3 separate regions of the Homo sapiens genome follow, and all the other regions are linked to region 1. The links are contacts of gene promoters, found by promoter capture Hi-C in human tissues and cell types (Jung and others, 2019). All regions are on one chromosome and are shown on one strand. Each heading gives the region's core, a stretch centred on a gene start or on the middle of the fragment in contact. The rest is flanking DNA. Distances are from core to core; before and after follow the strand shown. Region 1 holds the start of CCT8L2 (chaperonin containing TCP1 subunit 8 like 2). Region 2 has its middle 63 kb from the start of CCT8L2. Region 3 has its middle 37 kb from the start of CCT8L2.

Evidence for each region. The method cuts DNA at HindIII sites, captures the fragments that hold promoters and counts their contacts. A contact is called where the count stands out against the background at its distance.
Region 2: a fragment that was not itself captured here is called in contact with the fragment with the promoter of CCT8L2 in region 1 in 9 of the 25 tissues and cell types used here (H1 embryonic stem cells, bladder, dorsolateral prefrontal cortex and 6 more).
Region 3: a contact is called between a fragment that was not itself captured here and the fragment with the promoter of CCT8L2 in region 1, in 6 of the 25 tissues and cell types used here (dorsolateral prefrontal cortex, heart left ventricle, lymphoblastoid cells and 3 more).

The regions. Positions count from the first base shown.
Region 1 is chr22:16,590,108-16,594,871 of GRCh38, forward strand. CCT8L2 (chaperonin containing TCP1 subunit 8 like 2) reads right to left here and starts at 2,703. Exons shown (of 1, transcript NM_014406.5): 1 at 644-2,703. The coding sequence starts at 2,443. The coding sequence ends at 770. It also overlaps the pseudogene FABP5P11. The HindIII fragment of the contact is 16,456 bases long and covers 1-4,764 here.
Region 2 is chr22:16,653,329-16,658,092 of GRCh38, forward strand. It overlaps the pseudogene PARP4P3 and the pseudogene ANKRD62P1-PARP4P3. Among named protein-coding and RNA genes, the nearest start is that of CCT8L2, 63 kb to the left of the region's middle. RefSeq lists a silencer at 3,797-3,997. The HindIII fragment of the contact is 4,221 bases long and covers 268-4,488 here.
Region 3 is chr22:16,627,485-16,632,248 of GRCh38, forward strand. It overlaps the pseudogene TPTEP1. Among named protein-coding and RNA genes, the nearest start is that of CCT8L2, 37 kb to the left of the region's middle. The HindIII fragment of the contact is 8,238 bases long and covers 1-4,764 here.

The sequences.
Region 1 (4,764 bases), core at 1,453-3,952:
TGCTTTAAGATGATAGTCCCTTCTTTTTTTTCAAATAACCACAACAGGAAGGACTGACCACTCTTGTAAGCTGCAACTGATGTTTTCAGACTCCTAAAGTGACATCTAGACATAAGTCCATATATGTCAGAATATCATGCAGGGAATGCTCAAATAGTTGGGAAGAGATTGCTGCACTGTGTTTTGCACGCCCAAAGCCCACATAGGTACTCAGTTTAAAAATCTTAATAGAATTGAATCCTGCTCTTATCATAGGAAAGGAAGAGCATCTGATAGAAACACAAAATGAAAAGGTCAAGAACTGGCTGGGCACAGTGGCTCTCGCCTGTAATCCCAGCACTTTGGGAGGCTGAGGCGGGAGGATCATGAGGTCAGGAGTTCGAGACCAGCCTGGTCAATATGGTGAAACCCCGTCTCTACTAAAAATACAAAAAATAGCTGGGCGTGGTGGCGCGCACCTGTAGTCCCAGCTATTCAGGAGGCTGAGGCAGGAAAATCGCTTGAACCTGGGAGGCGGAGGTTGCAGTGAGCCAAGATCACGCCACTGCACACCAGCCTGGGCAACAGAGCAAGACTCCGTCTCTCAAAAAAAAAAAACAAAAAAAGTCGAGAACTGGAAAGGAACTAAGCGCATGAAAAGAAATTTTATGTTCCTTCATGTTTTTATTTAAAGAAAGTGAATCAAGTACCAAACACGGAATAAAGGCAAACATTCATTTTTGGGGTGATTGTTCCCTTCTTGGCAATCCCTGTTTTATTGAGGGTATCACTAGTTATTCAATCCAAGGATTTTTTTTGTTTCCACAGGAGGTGGGTGTTTCTTTGTCTTCTTAGAGTCAGGATTCCAGATCTCCTGATGTGTGGGACTTTTCTTGGCCACTACGATTTCATCTACAGTCACGAGCTGTAGCACCACCTCAGCCACTGCTCGAAATCCTTGGGCTTTGACTATTAGGGTGTCCCACACCCCTTCCTGGGCCACATTTATTATCCCTTCAGTTCCCACACCCATTAGGAGGTTCCCACCTTGGTGCACTCCACTCATTTCTGCCATCACGTCTGAGACAGCTAAGCCTGCATTCTCTGCCAAAGTTTTAGGAAGATACTTCAGGGCCCAGGCAAATGCTAGGAATGCAGGCCCACTGGGCCCTTCCAATCTGCTTCCTTTATCAGAAAGCATTTTTGCCAAAGCCATTTCTGTGGCCCCAGCTCCTGGAATCAGTCTGGGATCTTGACATAGCTGGAAATAGGCATCAATGCCGTGGTAGACGGCCTGCTCTGCACTCCGCAGCCCCTGGGTGGTGGCTCCCCTGAGAACCACAGTGAGGGCAGGTGTGCCTGTACATTCCCATTCAAATACCACAGCCAAACCATCTCCCAGCTCCTGCCTGTAAACCCTCTGGCACTTGCCTGGCCTCTGGGGAGGGAGCAGACGAGGCAGCAGAGGTGTGTCCAACACCTCACTCAGGTAAATGATCTCCATCCAAGACCTAGCTTGAATCACCACGATGCCATACTTGTCCGCCAGTGTGAGGGTCTCCTCGTCGACCTCCCCCAACACCACTGCCACATTAATTCCTGCAGCTGCTAGCTGGCCTACTTGCTTTTCTAGTAATTGATCGCTTCCTTTACTAAATTGAGCTAGATCAGCAGGACTAGAAAGACGGGCCGTTGCTGGTGCATTTGGATGGGCAGGACCAAAGGGGCAAGCAAAGAGAGCCACCCTGGCACCACTTAACACTGTGGCCATTTGCCCACAGAGCTTCCCAGATATTGCTAACCCCGGGAGGAGGCAGGAATCCTCCAGTGTCCCCCCGGGCAGCGCGCACACCCCAACACGCTCAGGCTTGAAGCTGCCGTCTAGTTCCTTGATAGCCCAGCAGGCGTGGGCCACCAGCTTGGTCAAGTGGTCCATGGGGGACAGGGTGTGGGTATTCATCACAGAATGGAGGGCCCAGGATGGATCTTCCAAAGGCCCCAGAGATTGGATGGCCAGGGAGGGCAGTGTGGCCAGGACCTCTGCAGTGGCCGTGGCGTAGGCCTCCCGGAGCTGCGGGCGAGGCAGGCCAGCCTTCAGCAGCTGCTCTGCCTGTTCCAGCAAGGCTTCCGTCAGCAGAACCACGAAGGCTGTGCCGTCCCCACTATTCTCTGCCTGGGTTTGTCCTGCTTCCCGGAGGAGCCATGCTGCTGGGTGCTCCAGCTCCAGGGCCCTGAGGATGGCAGTGGCACACCCCGTGCACACTGTTTCTCCTTTCATGGTCACCAGGAACTTCTGCCGGCCGTGGGGGCCATAGCAAGGCCGGATGACACTGGCCAGGGTCTGGACTGCAGCCAAGCTGCTCAGCAGGTGGGGCTCCTCCTCTTCTGGACTCCTCGGGCTCTCCCTTGGGTTCAGTGCCAGCCGCTGGGGCAGCTCCAGGGCTGAAGGGACTGTGCTGTCCATGGCCCGCAGAGAGAGGAGAGGCCACCGTGGGTTGCAGAGATGCTCTAGAAACAGCAGCTGGGGCACTCCTGACACCGATCGTTGAAAGTACTCAAGAGGTCAGTGGAAGCAAGGAGCCAAATGCCCATTGATTGGTATCTGAAGACATCAGCACGGACCAGCACTCCACTGTGGGTCCAAGGATGAGCTCCAAAGAGCCCAGTCCTAAAGCCACCCCAGGGTTGATTCTGTAAAGGAACTGGGTCTTGGGGCCTCTCAACCTTGGTGGCTGAAATGGGATCTTTAACTGATGAAGTCACAAAGTGGAAAATGGAACCAGGATAGAGAATGAGGTCACAGAAGGCTGGTTAGAACTGAGGAGGCCCTACCAGCAGGCAAAAGTCAGGCCTTGTCCAGCAATGGAGGTACATGCACCTCTGCACCAGGTTTGAGACTTGTTTAAACGTAAGAGACAATGAGGAGGAGATCAAGTGAAAAACTACCCATTTCACCCTATCTGGAGTGCAGGGGCATAACCATGGTTCACTGCAGGCCCAGCTCCCTGGTCTCAAGCAGTCCTCCTGCTCAGGTTCCCAAGTACCTGGGACTACAGGCACACACCACCACACCTAGCTAGTTTTTTTATTTTTTGTAGAGACAGTGTTTCTGTCTGTTGTCCAGGCAGGTCTCGAATTCCTAGCCTCAAGAGAGCCTTCCACCTTGGCCTCCCAAAGTGCTAGGACTACAGGTGTGAGCCACCACCTCACCCACCCTTTTTTTTTTTTTTTTTTTGAGACAGAGTCACACTCTGTTGCCCAGGCTGGAGTGCAGTGGTACAATCTTAGCTCACTGCAACCTCCACCTCCCAGGTTCAAGCAGTTCTCCTGCCTCAGCCTCTCAGTAGCTGGGATTACAGGTGCCAGCCACCACGCCCGGCTAATTTTTTATATTTTTAGTAGAGATAGGGGGATTTCACCATGTTGGCCATGGTTGGCCAGGTTAGTCTCAAACTCCTGGCCTCAAGTGATCCGCCCACCTCGGCCTCCAAAAGTGCTGGGATTACAGGTGTGAGCCACTGCACCTGGCCTTTTTTTTTTATTTGAGAAGGAACTGAGAGATGATGTCTGTGTTTTGTTTTGTTTTGGTGTTACTTTCTCTTGCAGTACTGTGTAATATTAGCCATGTTTTGCTGTCTGCCTTTGACTTTTTGGGTATCTTATCAGTTTGTGCTTGTGTATCAGGTTTCTTAGGGTGTCTGTTGGTCTTTCAGGGTGCAGGTGTGGGAGGCTGCACAGCGTGCATGCCTGTGCCACGACTCCCAACTCTGCCTCCCTGGCAGAGGCAGGGCAAGACAAGTGGGGAAGGATGCTGACAGCTCACAGACAAATAGAAGTGAACCCAGAGGGGTGAAAAGCAACCAGCCTCCCAGCGGTCAGGGAGGTAGAAGCCTAAATGGGGTCCTGAGATTTAAATGCGAATCGCCTTCCCATCCTAACCTTCAATGCTTACAATTTAAGTCTCTTTTTTTCATTCTCTCTCCTTTCCTCACTTGTCTCCTCTTTCCTCCTATAGAGCCTACTCGGGTAATGATGCTTCTGCTTTAGTTTAACACATATTTAGTCTGGGCGTGGTGGCTCATGCATGTAATCCCTGCACGTTGGGAGGCTGAGGCGGGAGGATTGCTTAAGCTCAGGAGGTTGAGGCTTCAGTGAGCCATGATTGCACCACTGCATTCCAGCTAGGGCAACAGAGTGAGACTTGTCTCAAAAAAAATAGGGGAAAGGTCATTTGGAATCCTAGTCCAGAGATAACCATTGTTTACAACTTGATGAACATTACTACTTTGCACATATTATATGCATACATAATTATAGATTTACACCATTTTACATAAGATTATGATACATATATGCTATTCTGTGATCATTTCCCCCTCAACATTATCTTGGCTCAGAGAAATGTTTCTTTTTTTGTTTGGACATGGAGTTTCGGAGTTTCGCTCTTGTCGCCCAGGCTGGAGTACAATGGCGCAATCTCGGCTCACCCTCGGCTCACCACAGCCTCTGCCTCCCGGGTTCAAGCAATTCTCTTGCCTCAGCCTCCTGAGTAGCTGGGACTGAGTAGCCATGTGCCACCATGCCCGGCTAATTTTGTGTTTTTAGTAGAGACAGGGTTTCTCCATGTTAGTCAGGCTGGTCTCAAACTCCTGACCTCAGGGGATCCACCCGCCTCGGCCTCCCAAAAGTGCTGGGATTACAGGCGTGTGCCACTGTGCCTGGTCTGTGAGCCACTGTGCCCGGCCTGAGAAATGTTTCTTTTTTTCTTTCTTTTTTTTTTTTTAA
Region 2 (4,764 bases), core at 1,128-3,627, 63 kb after region 1:
GCCTGGGAGACAGATTGAGACCATCTCTAAAACAACAACAGGCCAGGTGCTGTGGCTTATGCCTGTAATCCCAGCAATTTGGGAGGCCGAGGCAGGTGGATCACCTGAGATCAGGAGTTCGAGACCAGCCTGGGCAACCTGGTGAAATCCTGTCTCTACTAAAAATACAAAAATTTAGCAGGGCATGGTGGCACACACCTGTAATCCCAGCTACTCGGGAGGCCGAGGCAGGAGCATTGCTTGTACCCAGGAGGCAGAGATTGCAGTGAGCTGAGATCACGCCATTGCACTCCAGTCTGAGCAACAAGAGCAAAACTTCGTCTCAAAAAAATAAAAAATTAAAAAATAACAAAAAATGAGACAGAAAACAAATATTTTGTTTCATTATTGCTTGTTAGTTGATTAAAGTAATTCTGCTTCCACTTTATTTTCAAAGACACTAATTGCTACACTGAATAAAACCTTAATGGAGTTTCATTATAAGTATCTATTATCATTTGATTATTTTCTACATAGAAGCATGCAAAAAGTTTAAAATTCAGTTTCATTTGACTTAGTCTTGACTGTAATGAAGGACTCTACGAAGAGGGGACACAGTGTTTATGAGCTGGAGTCCTAGTAACTGCTTGGTGGCAGAGTCCCAGTCATTCCCCAGTTCAAGCCATGGGCAGATAGATGGGTACTGTCCTTCAGTTCTTCTTACCCATTCACTTGCTTTCTTTATTGCTTCAAAAGCCCAGGGAATATTCTTAGGTTAAAAAAAAATAAATGTTTCAGATTTCAGAATATAACATGTGAAATGTAATGTGGTACTAAACCCATCACATTATATCACACAAAATGATTCTGCCAAAAGTTAAGATATTTAATAAAAGCAGTTTTCCTTGACATCTTCCGGAAGTTCTTCTAACCATCTGAACTTGAGCTTATGCACTGCATTGTCAAGTGTCCTGTGCCCCCCACCTCCTGGCTTCCACGTGCCTCCAGGCATCCCTGCTGCCTACAGGACAGCTCAGGTTCCAGCCTCTCTACAGTTGTTTGTGGTTGTCCCCTTTCCAAGCTTCTCAGTCTAAATCCTATCCATTCTTCATGCACAAACTCAAGTAGTATTTCACAAACGAGGCTTCTGTTTCTCTCTCCTTCCCACTGTACTGACTTGATTAGGTCCCTTCAGAATATCTGACAGTCCCCCATGAAACTGGCATCTGTTCAGCTGTGTCACATAAACCAGGAACAACTTGGTAGAATAAGCTTATCGAGTCAAGTGTGTGTCCACTGAATGGTGTCAAATATTTGAGACTGTTGAATATTCAAGTCTATTCAACACTCAGAAAAATTCTGGGGTTGTTCATTAATATTAATTAGCTACTTCCTCATTTGTTCTGTCATCTGTTAGAACTTGTTAGTGAACAAGTGGCAACATACACCAAAGTTCTTCAGAAAATTCTATGGGAAAACCTAATATTTTGAAAATTCTCTCCCTGTTCCTCATTTCTCCCTGTGAACTGGGAAAGGGCCATCAGTATAGCATGATGGTGAAGAGCTGGGTTTGAGTCCTGACTCTGCAATCACATGATACTGGCCATGTGATACTGTGTGGCTTTCATTCAACACTGGGAATCTCAGTTTCCTCAATTGTGAGAATAACATGAGGTCCCATGGGTTTGTGGTGGAAATCAACAAAGCTTATAAATTTAACGTGCATACTAATCCCTGGTACACAGTGGGCACTCAATAAATGTTCACTGAATGTCATGATAGAATGAACATACTAAATAAGAACCATGCCCGAAGTTTAAAAGACCGACATTTCCTGGTAAATGTTCGTCTACTGACAGTTACTGACTGCTGAAAACAACAAAACTGGCTTTGAATATTTTCACTAATTCAGCCGGCCTCCTTTAGCCCTGTGGCCTCTACACTTTTTGGTTCACATTCCACTAGTAAGAAAACCTTGTGCCTACACCCCCAGGTAATGTACTCCTGCATCAATGTTACGTACATCCCGAAATAGAAAATACAGAAAAAAGTTTCAAACATGCAATAAACAGGAAATAAAAAATATTTAATTTTTTTTTTTTTGAGACAAGAGTCTCGCTTTGTTGCCAGGCTGGAGTGCAGGAGCACAATCTCAGCTCACTGCAAGCTTGTGATCCGCCCGCCTCAGCCTTCCAAAGTGCTGGGATTATAGGCGTGAGCCACCGCGCCTGGCCTAACATCGTATTGTCTTATGTACTCAAGTGCCAGCAAACCATTTTGCTAGCACCATAGCAGTAATGTAGTAAGAGCTATATGCTGCAATATACTTGATCAGTTCTGAACATCTTGCTTTAATACTTTGTGGTATTACAGTTCAAAAGCACGTTCAAAGTTTATACTTGTTCTAACAGCTATAATATTACTAATTAGGAACAATATAAATAGAATAATTACCTCTTTGGATGTGCCTATTAAGTCAAATACTAATTTTTTAGTCCCATCTCCTAGCTGTTCAAAGTGTTTTTTCTTTGATATTTATTTAATTAATTCTCTTGGCAAGTGGCACTGGTTTATTTTCACTTGAGGCCAGGAGTTTGAGACCAGCCTGGCCACCATGGCGAAACCTCATCTCTACTAAAAATATAAAAATTAGCTGGGCACGGTGGTGCGCACCTGTAATCCCAGCTACTTGGAAGGCTGAGGCACGAGAATTGCTGATCTTAAACTCCTGGACTTGGTCTTGCTGGGCTCAAGTGATCAACCTGGGAGGCAGAGGTTGCAGTGAGCCGAGATTATGCCACTGCACTCCAGCCTGGGCAACAGAATGAGACCCTGCCTCAGTAAATAAATAAATAAATAAATAAATAAATAAATAAATAAATAAATACAAAAAAAAAAGAAAACCCCCCAAATAGAAAAAAGAATAAATTCTCATCTTTCTTGGCAAACTAATGAGAAGGTATTGCTTTTCAAAAAATGGAAGTATAAATTACATATAGTAAATTATGATTCTTTTTTTTTTTTAGACAGGGTCTAGCTTTGTTGCCCCGGCTGGAGTGCAGTGGCATGATCACAACTCACTGCAGCCTTGGCCTCCTGGGCTCAAGCAATCCCCCCCCCTCCCCCAGCTTCTTGAGTAGTCACACACTACAACACTCAGGTAATTCTTAATTTTTTTGTAGAGACAGGGTCTTGCTATGTGGTCAAGGCTGGTCTTGAACTCCTGGAAGCAAGCAATCCTCCTGCCTTGGCCTCCCAAAGTGCTGGGATTCCAGGTGTGAGCCACTGTGCCCAGCAATGCCTGGGTAATTTAAAAAAGTTTTTTTGTAGAGATGGGGGTCTCATTGGTTACCTAGGCTGGTCTTAAACTCCTGGGCTTGATCTTGCTGGGCTCAACTGGTCCTCCTGTCTCAGCCTCCCAAAGTGCATGGATTACAGGCATGAGCCAATGTGCCTAGTCCAGAAATTCCTGAACACCTGTTTTGTGTTCAAGAACTTTTTCTTAATCGTTACACTTAAAAAATAGTTATCAGGCCAGGCGCAGTGGCTCATGCCTGTAATCCTGGCACTTTGGGAGGCCGAGGCGAGCGGATCACGAGGTCAGGCGATCGAGACCATCCTGGCTAACACGGTGAAACCCCGTCTCTACTAAAAATATAAAAAAATTAGGCATGGTGGCGGGTGCCTGTAGTCCCGGCTACTTGGGAGGCTAAGGCAGGAGAATGGTGTGAACCCGGGAGGCAGAGCTTGCAGTGAGCCAAAACTGCACCACTGCACTCCAGCCTGGGTATCAAAGCGAGACTCCATCTCAAAAAAAAAAAAAATAGTTATCAATATTTCTTTAAATATCATAAAATATCCAGGTAGTGTTTTAATTTTCCCTGTCTCATTTTTTAAAATGCAGTGGGTTTTGTTCAAACTAGGATCTAAACAAGGTCTACTCTTGCTTTTGGTTGACATGTCTCTAAAGGTTTATTTATAGGTTCGCTCCTCAACCCTTTTTTTCTCTTGCCATTTATTTCCCCACATTCCAGACTTTGCTGACTGCATTTGCATGGTGTCACATAACATGTTCCTCTAATCTAATTCAAGTTTAGAAATCAAGGGTTTTCATTTAACTTGTTTGATTTTATACATATTAGTTTCTAACAATATTAGTATCTACCTTCCAAAATAACAAATCAAAAGTGTTATTAACACCATGGCTACTCCCAGTGAGATTTCTTTGTAATATTTTTTAATCCTTAGGCACTATCCCACTAGGGGATTTGACATAATTTGACACAGTCAAATTATTTACTATGTTTTAAAGTCATCTTAAATTAATTCCCAGGCTGGGCATGGTGGCTCACGTCTGTAATCCTAGCACTTTGGGAGGCTGAGGCAGGAGGATTGCTTGAGTTCAGGAGTTCGAGACCAGCCTGGGTAACATGGTGAAGCCCTGTCTTTACAAAAAATACAAAAATTAGCAGGGCATGGTGGTGCATGCCTGTAGTCCCAGTTACTTAGGAGGCCAAGGTGGGAGGATGGCTTGAGCCCAGGAGGCGGAGGTTGCAGTGAGCTGAGATTGCACCACTGCACTCCAGCCTGGGTGATACAGCCAGACTTTGTCTCAACAAATAAATAAATATCAATCTTATCCATTATTACATAAAATATTTACATAGTTCCAAAGTCAAAACTGCAAAACAAATCACACTAGGAGAAACCTAGCTTCCATCCTTGTCCTCTCTACCAAACCTCCCTTGCAACAGTATTTTTATTAGTTTGATTAGTTTTCCCCTT
Region 3 (4,764 bases), core at 1,598-4,097, 38 kb after region 1:
ACTTACGGCATCCCTACACCTTTTTTTATTACCATGATTAGTTATTAATGGAGCCTTTATATGTTGATACAGATTTTGTAGTAAGTATGTCAATATTCTAAAAAATTTTGAAAAATACCTATGTGGGCCCTGTGGTGTTTGGGAGAGGGAAGTGCTTTAAATACTAGGTTGATTTCTTTGTTACTTGAGTATTCTATTTCTATATAAATATATTTTCTTGCACTAATGTTAGTGTCTTATATTCGTCTAGGAATTTTTCCATTCCATCTAAGTTTTCACATTTATTAGCATATAATTGAATAATCTCATTTTAAAAAATTTTAGTTGTGTTCTAGTTATGCTCCCTTCTTGTACATTTTATTTGGATATTCACTCTGTTTGTTCTTGATTATTATTGCCACAGGTCTATTGTAGTAATCTTTTCAAAGAGACACACTTTTGTTTTGTTAATCTTCTCCACGGTTTTTTCTTCTCCAGTTCAGTGACTTATGCTTACCTCCTTATGTTTTGCTTCCTTATTACTCCATAGACTTTGCCCTGTGCTCCTTTTCCAACCTCTCTACTTAAATGTGTACTCTTTGTTTTTAACCATCTTGACTTCTTATTAATGCTTATATATTGGTAAATTTTCTTCTAAATATTGCTTCATTGTATCCTACAAACTTTGTCATGTTATTATCAATCAGTTCTTAGTATTTAAAATATTTCGTGATTTCCCTTTTAACATAAGAGGCATTCAGTAATGTGTAATTTAGTTTCAAATGTGGGTTTTTTTAAAAAAGCTAATCATATTACAGTATATTCAGAGAACAGCAATATGATATTGATCCTGTGGACTTTATCCTGTGGAAGCTTTCTTTATGGTACAGAGAGCTATGATGTTGGTCTGTCCTTGTGCCCTCATAGGTCTTTTGCTCTTTCTAGAAGGTGTTAGAATTTTCTCTTTGTCTCCATTAGATAATTAAAGCTGATATATTTCTTTCTTGAATTCTGGGAAATTTATCATCATAAATTTTCACATTTTATTTTGCATTTTTAGTTTTCATTTCTTCTTAGATTTTCATATTCTAGATGTTAGATAGCTGTTTTTATTCTCCATAACATTCTTCTTTTTAGTATGTTCTCTTTATTCTTTTCTACTATTTTCTGGGTAGGTTTCTCAATCTAATCTTCTAACTCTAAATTAATTAGCTTTTCACATATATCCAAACTACTATTTATCCCTCACCAATTTATATTTTTTGACAGTCATACTTTTACAGTTAAGGCTTTCTCTTTTATTTTTTCTTACGACTCCCATTCTCATTTCATGTTTCAACATCTTCCTTTGTGTTCTCTTATCCTTAAGAATATTTGTCATGCTTACTTTAAAATCTTGGTCAGTGTGTTCCAGTAGTTTTGCTACAGTTGGTATGCTGTTGTTCAGCTTGTTGTATTTCTTTTTCAGTAGTTGTATTCCTCAGATATCTAATCATGTTGGTTTGTGAACTCAGATTTTTTGTGGCTATTGGCTACTCTGTCTTGTCATTTGTATTGGGGAAGGACTGAAGGACAATCTCAGTCTGCTGCTGTTCTTACAACATAATTATTAATAGCACCCACTTTTTCCTTTCAAAAGTGTCCTGGTTTGGGCAGGAATTATATAGTCAGTCGCACTGAAATCTAGGACGTAAGCTGTGTCATTGTCAGTAAGTTTAAAATGAAGAGAAGTGATGTGCCCCAGGGTAGAGAGTCTCAGGAACCATGAAACACTGACCAGGCAACTCCTGTGGGTTGTGAAAAGGAAAAACTTTAGACAAGGTAAATTTAAGAGTTTAATAGTGCAAGAATGATTTGTTAGTTGGGAAGCTTTTAGAACGAGAACAAGTTCTGAGAACTGCAAGCTGGCAATGTGGCCAGACAGCATTATGGACAGAAAATGGAAATGAGGTCCAGAAACAGCTTTGTTGTTTACAACTGATTACAGCTGGATGTTTTGTCTTATTTGAATCAGTCAGCCACCCGCAATTGACTGAAGCTCAGCCGCTCTAATTGACTGAGACACAGCTGTCTGTTACAAGTGTATATTCTATTCATAATTATGCTGTTAGTTTACACACTAGGTTAGCTTGCAGTTTGTTGCATAAGGACTCAAGTACAGAGGCAACCTCAGGGAAAATTTCGTTTAATTAAACAACTATATCACCTTGAAGCTCCTGAACAAAGCAGCATTGGAGGAGACAATCTCTCTGGTTTGTAACCTGGGCTTTGGAGATGGAGGCAGGTGGAGGAGTGAAGGCCCAAGGATGGCTCTTCAGCCCTTCCCTGTTTTCATCAGCCAGCCTAATGCTCTCCTAATTTTACTGTAACTACTTCTAGGTAGTTGCTGTTGTTGTCTATGGAGACAGGCAGGGATGGTCACTATTGTTTCCAAATGGCTAAATTGCATGTGTTGTGTTTTGTTTTTTTAGAACAGCTAGTTTATTAGTTGTAGGGTTATTGTAGCTAATTTGAATAAAAATTAAGCCTACAAATTCACATGGTATTTGATTATGTACAATTTAGTTTAATTCTTTAGCTCTGACCCAAATGAACTGATATCACTAGCCCATGATGGAGTCCTCAGTGAAAGTGAAATGATATCACTAGCCTATAATGGAGTCATCAGTGAAAGGTGTTGTGTGTGTGTGTATGTTCATAAAGATACACGCAAATGTTAACTATAGAGTTTCTTGGACACTGTTTCTAAAGTACTGGTAGTTTCAGCTTCTGTATGTAACATCCTTTTCTTTTTGTGTCTACTTGGATACAAGATAAATAGATCACAAGAAGTCTACTTCTTCTTCCTAGCTGAGTTGACTCGTAGCCAAAACTTTTAGAAAACTGTTAGATTGCCTGTGTATGAGATTCTACCAGGTTGGGCTATATTAGTTTCTAGGGCTGCTTTAACAAAGTATCACAAACCAAGTGGCTTAAACAAAAATTAATGATCTCATAGTCCTAGAGACTAGAAATCTGAAATTGAGGTTGTCAGTAGGGTTGGTTTTTTATGAAGGCTATAAGGAAGAATCTGATACCTCTTTGCTAGCTTTTGCTGGTTGCTGGCAATCTTTGGCATTCCTTGGCAGGTAGACTCATGTCTAGAGTAACTGCAGCTATTTGACCAAAAGTGTAAGTCCAATTATGTTTGTATCTGAATAATATGCTTTTATAATTCCTCAGCCCACAGCCAATTGAGTTGATGGTAGTAACCTATGATAGAGCCACCCATGAAATGTGAATTAAAAACAAAGATTTATATACACGTAGGTATATATATACATATATACACATAACATACACGCATGCATACACATACACAGAAACATAAAACAAAGAGAAAGAGAAGTTGATATTTGTAAAATTCACTGTCAGGCATATCCTTGGAAATACAGAGTATCTTTGACACTATGTCTAAATCTTCTTACTGTAGGATCTATAGATAACCTTCTTTTTTTTTTTTTTTTTTTTTTTTCAGACCAAATTGGATAAAAGAGGATGAAGTCATGAAAGGGATGTTTCTTCCTCTTAGTATATTTGTCACTCTAAGTTAGTAGTATGCAATCCCTTAGGAACCTCTGAGGTTTTCCATTTATGAGACTCTCCTACTACTAGAGTGGGCCAAAGGGAGAGAGAATCCTATTTGGAGCAATGGGGAGGTAACAGGTGACAGGGAGGAGTGAAGCACTCAGCAAAAAGAACAGGGTTCATGAAACCGTAATGGGTTCCTCACCCTCTAGTGTTCTACCACCATGTGAGGCTGGTGCCCCAAACCAAACCCAAACCCACAATCATTTTGTAGGGAGTTCCTGACTCAGGCCTACAGCTACATGGTCATATCTTCTGGGCAGGAAAGACAGCCATGATGGGTGAAAGTAAAGAAGTGACGGACTTAGGAATCAAGAATTTAGATGGGGTAAGAGGCATGTTTCCTTACAGACTGCAGTTACGTTAGAAATAAATGCCACTGGCCAGGCATGGTGGCTCATATCTGTAATCCCAGCACTTTGGGAGGCCAAGACGGCTAGATCACTTGAGGCCAGGAATTTGAGACCAGCCTGACCAACATGGCAAAACCCTGTCTCTACTGAAAATACAAAAATTAGCCAGGTATGGTGGTGCATGCCTGTAATCCCATCTACTCAGGAGGCTGAGGAAGGAGAATTGCTTGAACCTGGGAGGCGGAGGTTGCAGTGAGCCAAGATGGCAACACTGCACTCCAGCCTTGGTGAGAGTGAGACTCCGCCTAAAAAAAAGGATACACCTAGTTCGAATTAGTGATATACACATGAATATTTAAATATCAACCAGATAGTACATTATAGAGTAACTGTAGCTGTTTGATCCAAAAAGTAAGTTTAGAATTACATGTGTGTCCAACTATCTGCTTTTATATTCCTTTAGCCTGCATACAGAATTGACATCAATGACCTATGATAGAACCACCAATGAAATGTGAATTATAAAATATATATTCACAAATATTTAAAGAAATATATATGCAGATATACATACTTCTGTCTATCTAGACACACAAACACAGGGAGAGAGAGAAAGGGAGAGAAAGAGAAAGAAACAACAGAGAGAAAGATGAAGATTATGTGCTTACTCTCAGGATCATCCATGTCCATACAGAATGTCTTTTACACTGTTTATAAACCTCCTCACTATAGGCCCTGCAGGCCCCTTATTCAACTTTTTGATTAAATTGGATAAAAAAGGAACAGGGCAAAAGGAAACTTCTTG